Linked DNA regions of Homo sapiens: region 2 is linked to region 1. The links are contacts of gene promoters, found by promoter capture Hi-C in blood cells and fetal thymus (Javierre and others, 2016). All regions are on one chromosome and are shown on one strand. Each heading gives the region's core, a stretch centred on a gene start or on the middle of the fragment in contact. The rest is flanking DNA. Distances are from core to core; before and after follow the strand shown.

Region 1 (3,264 bases), core at 511-3,010:
CAAAAGGAGCAAAACTCCATCTCACAAAAAAAAAGGAAAATTATGCCCTAGTCTGATTCAATAAATATGTGTTGATCCCGCATATGTGCTCAAGGAGGCTAGCCACAAAGGTGTCTTCACACTCAAGACAGCCCAAGAATGCCACTCATGGCCTAGGTGTCTTATCAGAAGTTCTACAAGGTAGAGGGTGGGCAGGGGAACAGAAAGAAGAGGCTCTTGAATGTAAAGGACCTTTTATAAAATTCAAAAGGGACAAGGGCAGAAGGCACATTGAATGGAGACCCAGACTGAAAGTCAGGAAACAGGGTCAGTCTAGCTCTGCCATGAGGTGCATGTTCTTGGTCCAACCACTTCACCTCTCTGGGCCTCTGTTTTCTCATCTGCAAAATGAAGCAGTTGACCTAATAGCCTCCAAAGTTTCTTTCATGCTGATATTCTATAGCAGGCTGGGGCTAAATTTAGATTTAGATTTGTCCAAATGATGGAATGACCTCTTTTCCCATCACTTCCCAGATGTCTACCTGGATTCTGGAGCTCCAGGAAAGAACCCCCCTGTGTTCACAATGGCGGTCCCTGGTGCCTGCAGAACTTAGGACAGGGAATTGGGGAGGTGGGGTGGTTAGGGACAAAACCCAAATATGGACTCCTTAAGAGAAATTTCAACCTTAAAAAGAAAGGAATCTGTCCCAGGCAGCAGCACAGTTGCAATTCAGAGGAAGCTGCGGTTCCGAGTGTAGGGTGGTGGACTCTACTGTAATCAGCCCACCCTAATCAGCCACCCTGAAGTCAAGCAGACATCTGGGGTGTCTCACCAATCTCCCAGCCCCTAGAATGCCAAACAACCCTGCTCTGAGGCCCTGTAATATTATCACATGGGGGTCAGGGAGCTACTCTCCTTCAATACTTCCAAGCAAACTGCCTAGAGCCAAAAGTCCAGGAAGACTAAGCACTTTGCAGATTTGAGTGAGAAATCCCCAGGGACTTCCATAGAAACTGGGAGTCTCAGAAATACCTACCAGGTTGGTTTCCTGAGGCAGTGAGCCAGGGAAGGAGGACTGATGGTGATGTTGCCTCATTTGGATACTCCATGAGCCTACGCAAGTTTCACAAAAGCTTCAAAGGAAAACAAAATATCAAATGAATCCAGTAACAACATTCTGGGGAAAAGGCTACCTGGAAGAGGGACAAAAAGGGATGAGTTTCCAGAGGAAGCCTAGGGAGGATGCCTGATGTCACTGCTGACAGAGGAAGCAGGAGGACTCAGCGCTCTCTGGACTGACCAGGCTGTGATGGGTGTGGCAGGCCAGAACTGGACAGGATCATTAAAACCCTCGGAGAGGTTTTCACTGCAAGAAAGAAGAGCTACCAGGCCTGGAGGGGAATAAGATTGGGGACCCAGGCTGCCAGTGAACTTATGCCCACCCAGAAACTCAGCCGCAGAAAAGTGGTAGGGATTATTACACCAAACTGAGAATTACAGTCTCTGCCTCCTCAGCCCCTGGCAGAGCTGCCACACATGGCAGCAGCACTGTCCTGCCTCCAGGTGAAATAGGAGCCACTGGGATCACCCACCACGCTGCAGGAGCTATGAGGCGTACAGGAGCATGGGGAAGGGATATCAACACACATAAACAAAGTAGTTCCATCCTTGCCTTATGTCTGTCTTTTTTATACCTCCGTAGATGTGGCCAACAAAATTGCTCCATAAATTGGACACTGCCCAAAGAAGTCTTTAACGCCATTCCTGGGTTCTTTGTCAAAACCATGGTGGCTTTTCCTGTCTTCACAGAGCTAAGCCCATTGTTTTGTGGTCCCTGCAGCTGTACCTCTGACCTGGGTGGAGCTGCATGTCTAGGCAGGAGAGGCTTGGGAAGCTAGAGTTGTTGCTGGTGATCTGTTTTCAGCTTGGGGCAGGAGCCAGGCTGGGTGCCAGAAGCAACTTTTGATTAGTCATTAGGCACAGACTTTGCTTCAGCCACACAGCCACCTCATTCCTGCCTCAGGGCCTTTGCACTTGCTGTTGGCTCTGCTTGGAGTCCTCTCTCTTGATCTGCACTGGACTTGTTGCTCCCTACTTCATCAAATGTTACCTTCTCAGAGGACCTTCCATGTCCGCCTCCAGTGCAGGCCCTGTTCACACTCTGTCCACTGCTCTGCTGATTTCCTTATGATAGTTACGGCACTCTACAAGGATCTTGTTTATTTGTTTACATGGCCACCGTCTCTTTCCCTACGGGAACGTCTGGAACCTTAGCTCCACCAGGGTCATCTGAAGGCTCCCAGGGTGACCCACACAGACCAGACCCCAGCCTGCACCCCAGGAGGCTCCTGCTCCCCACATACACAGAGCTCACCTCAGCCTTACCTCGCAGATGAGGAAGACTTTGGTGCCCACACAAATGCCCATGTGTGCCACGGCCCAGACAGCAGTGTTCATGCCTGCGAGAGGTCAGGGCAAGCCTATCAGTCCCATGCTGAGATGCGAGGCCCTGGACGCCTCCCCACCTCAGAGGGTGAAGGGGGGAGGCCTGGACACCCTCTCCATCTCAAAGGGCAGGGGGTGAGGGGAAGGTCTGGCAGGGGAGGGATCTTGTCTCTCATGTTCACTACTGTCCACAACCTCCAGCACAATGCTGGGTATATGATAGATAATATCTGTTGAATGAATAAATGAATAAATGCACACAGCAGCAAGCTGTGTGGCTGCTTATCCAATATAACTGTATCCCTGCGCTTCTCCCTTCCTAACATAACTTCAGTCTGCTTGGCAACATGTCCTATTCATGACCACGTGTTTGCCCTAAGCTGTTCATAGTATTCCCTCTTTCCCTGTGCTAATAACTGATTTTTCAAAAGGACCCATGACTTAGTTCTGACCAAAACCATGAGCAGAAGTCTACTAGGTAGGGCCGGGGGTTCTAAAAGAGGTTTTCCCCTTTGTAAAAAGAGAAGCAGGCACTGTCATATTATCTGGATTAGATCTGCTTAGTACAGCTGTGCCTCACTTCTCACTCTGAGGAGAGTTACCGTGAGGAAAAGTGCAACCCGATGAAGATAGCTAGGGTGCGAGCTGGAAGAAACTGGGTCTTCTATGACATTACTGAAGAACTAAATTAACCATCTCTGGAGCTTGCATACCTCTGGATTTCTTGTTATGGAGCATAATAAATTTTCCTATTATTAAGCCATTGTGAGTTGCATCTTTTGTTACTTACAGCCAAAGGCATTTGAACGATAGAGACTATGGCATACACTGTCCCTTAG
Region 2 (3,264 bases), core at 568-3,067, 120 kb after region 1:
GAACATACAGCCGTAAATTAGGAGAGGTGTTGCGAGAAAAAGAATATAAGGGTCATCTTCCACCATTAATGGTAGCAGGGGAAAGACAAGGTGGTGTGGGAGTGTCACCGAGGAGCTTCCACTGGGTCAGGTGAGGTCTTCAAAAGGAAATGTGAGCAGTCCAGGTTCTCAGCCCTCATTGTCTTGTCTCTCTCATGATTCTTTTCAGGTCCCACCCTCCAGTCCATCATCTGCTCCAACGACGCACTCTTCTACTTCGTCTTCTTCTACCCTTTCCCCATCTTTGGCATTCTTATCATCACCATCCTTCTGGTGCGTTTCAAGAGCCGGAACTCCAGCAAGAACTCTGATGGGAAGAATGGGGTGCCTCTGCTGTGGATCAAAGAGCCACACCTCAACTACTCCCCTACTTGCCTGGAGCCCCCTGTTCTCAGTATCCATCCAGGGGCCATAGACTAAGCGGGTGATGCCCCAGCGGATGTTGGCCACGGAGGAGCTGAGGCTCTCCCTTTCTCTGTGATTGGACAGTTGACAGCACCCAAACTCTGGGGTGCATGTGTGTGGAAAGTTGTCAGACTTGAAAAGTGTTCCAAGTTCCCAGTCAGTCACAGAGACAGACTGCCTCTCGGTGGCAGTCTTGGTTGGTTAGCTATTTGCGCGCAAATGTTGTGATCCTGCCATTATAGATTTCTTGTTTCTGTTTTTAGTAATGTAGTGAGTAGCTCCAGGTGCCACATCTACTCACAGATTTATCTAGTATTCTCAGATAGATGTTACAGGGCTTCTTATTCTTTGTAATGTACTCTTTTTAAATCCCTTTAGTTTACCCTTTTTGGATTCCTTAATGTGGACGAATTTCTCTTACGTACAACTGACAGCAAAAGGAAGGGCGAACTTTCTAGTGACAAGGAATCTCTTCCAAGACTTTGTTTTTGCACATTTGAAAATGCCACCCATGGATCAAAATATACCCAAACGTTTTTTACTTTCTTAACAAGACTTAAGAATTGTGTGTAGTGTGGGCAAAATTTGTATGTTGTCTTTTCCCTCAGCTGGAGTTATTGGAACCACTTTGTAGTCAAGACGAAAGCACTGAATTTTGCTTCAAAGAACTGTGTATGTACAAGAGAAATCCTGCATAACCCCATTAGGAGTAGATGGTGCCCGGCCTATCTGTCAGGGAGGCAAAAAAGGCTTCATCCCATCCTTGCCAAAAAATAAGAAAACTGTCTTGGAGAATGGGTCAGAAGCCCCAAACGGCACACACTTTCCAAATTAAAGTGGGCAGGGGCTGCTTTTAGCAGCTGCTGACCTGCAGATTTGTCAAAGCCAGTGACTAGAGAAGGAAGGGAGAAAGGCTGGCTGTTGGCTTGCTCTGAGCTGCAAGGATGGTCTCTAACTGATTAACTGTGAGCAGGTGGGCCTGTGTCTTCAGGTGCTTTGCCAAACTCTTAAAAGAAAGTGTCCAGTGAACTTGGAAGTGGGCCCCTGAGCTGAGCACAGGGCCAAAGCAGCCATGGCAGACACCTGACGGAGGGCACGGGGCTGGCTGACACTAAGTTTGGTGGGACAGTGAGGGGTGGGAGGGGGGTTTCCAGGGCCTGGTGTTGGAGAGTGCAGAGAAATATCTACCTCCCTGGAGGTGTGAAGACTAGGTTTTTCTTCTTCCTTCCAATTAGATTTTCCTTAATTATAGTGATGTCTTCCTTATTCATTTTTCTCTCCCTGCCTCTCACTGCCATAAGAATATCAGCCTGGGGGCAGTCCAGACGCAGCCCTTTGTCATCCTTTCTGTTTGCCTAGTCTCAGCAGACTGTGATCACAAGGCATTGTCTGTGGGATTTTTCCTTTCCCTTTCTTGATCTCTCTTGTGGTTCTAGGTTGTTTGGTTGTTCATTGTTATGGTGGCTTTTTATTTTAACGCCCCTTGAGCCCCATGATGGCTGGTGTCACCCTGTTCTTTTACACTGTTGGGCCAGGTGCTGCTTGTCCTTCTTAGGGCATCATCAATTGCAAATATTTCCTTTTGCTCCCTTTATGAAGATGTTCTTATACCCTTGCTTTCCCATATTTTTCTGGCCAAGCATGCCATCTCCTTTACTCTGGGAACTTACATCCTGAATCCCAAGAGGGGGTCACAGTTTGGAAAAAGTCATCAGGGATTCTGGAACTAAGTCTGATAAAAGATTCCAGTGAAGCCCTGTTCTGAGAACGAGCAGACTGCAGGGGAGGCCATGGGATTCCCCAGGCCAGTGTCTGTGCTGATCCTTCAAGGGTCTGCAGGTATGCAGGTGGCCTGGGCTGCTCGGCAGATACTTTGCTGATTCCCAGCTGAGGGGAGCATGGTGGCGATTGCTCAGCCATTTTCTGACAGACACACAGACCTGCCTTTTCTCCCCCAAGTATACCGTACCCTCCTGTGAGACAGTGTGTGCAGGCACCACCACCTTAATCCTGCTGTTGCCTGACATGCTGATTCTCATTTATTATGCTGCATCAACACATTAGAGGTACAGGAGCGGCTCAGTCATGAAAAAAGAAGGTCTTTTGCCCCATTTCTTTATTTCAGAGATGTGGGCTTTCAGTGGGAATTTGCTGACTCCTACTTTATAGGCTGAGTCAATGAGGGAAGATGACTGGCGTTTCCTCTGTCTAAATGGGAGGTTGCCAGAGCGCTGGCTGGGACTAGGATGTGTAACTAAGATTTCAGTTTGAAATCTTAGATTTCAGTTCACGGCGATAAAGAAGTAGGTGCTGCACACAAATATGTAAAGCAATTGTAGGAAATTTGAAAGGAAAAAAAGAAACCGAAGCCAGTATTTTAATAATTGCTTTTTCTGTGTATTTTGTATTGGGCTGGGGGATAGCATCAAAGGTTGAACTTTTTGAGCTTTCTATGAAAAACCCCAGGACCTTCTTTCTTTGGCCATTTCTATGGAAATGCGATGTCAGATGGATGGTAATGGTGCCCTCCAGTGGCTGTGAGACCTCATTGCGCATTGTCTACTGGAGCTTTAGTCTTCTGAGACGGAGGAAAACTGCTGAATACTCTGGATTCATCTATGTCTACAATGTTGCATTTATGAAAAACTACACTGTGCTAGGCGCATTCTAGGACATGAATATGACCACACCCTCTTTCACCGGGTGTTTCTGTAGCAAGTTTTCATATTCTTTTCAAACAATGGTTTCTCTGCGTTAATTATTGAGGAAAAAAAAAGATGGGGTAAGAAAACTACCCATGCATGATGTAGAGAGCTGTTG

The links. Contacts are between HindIII fragments. The CHiCAGO score rates a contact against its expected background, and 5 or more counts as called.
Region 2: a contact is called between a fragment that was not itself captured here and the fragment with the promoter of LINC02868 in region 1, in 1 of 17 cell types (M2 macrophages). The highest score is 5.1, in M2 macrophages.

Annotation. Positions count from the first base shown.
Region 1 is chr1:116,692,608-116,695,871 of GRCh38, reverse strand. LINC02868 (long intergenic non-protein coding RNA 2868) reads right to left here and starts at 1,760. Exons shown (of 4, transcript NR_149353.1): 1 at 1,675-1,760; 2 at 1,017-1,113. The HindIII fragment of the contact is 15,118 bases long and covers 1,116-3,264 here.
Region 2 is chr1:116,574,507-116,577,770 of GRCh38, reverse strand. IGSF3 (immunoglobulin superfamily member 3) reads left to right here. Exons shown (of 11, transcript NM_001007237.3): 11 at 209-3,264. The coding sequence ends at 459. It overlaps LOC124904385 (a long non-coding RNA gene), which reads right to left. Exons shown (of 2, transcript XR_007066497.1): 2 at 3,021-3,264. Among named protein-coding and RNA genes, the nearest start is that of CD58, 5.1 kb to the right of the region's middle. The HindIII fragment of the contact is 4,636 bases long and covers 1-3,264 here.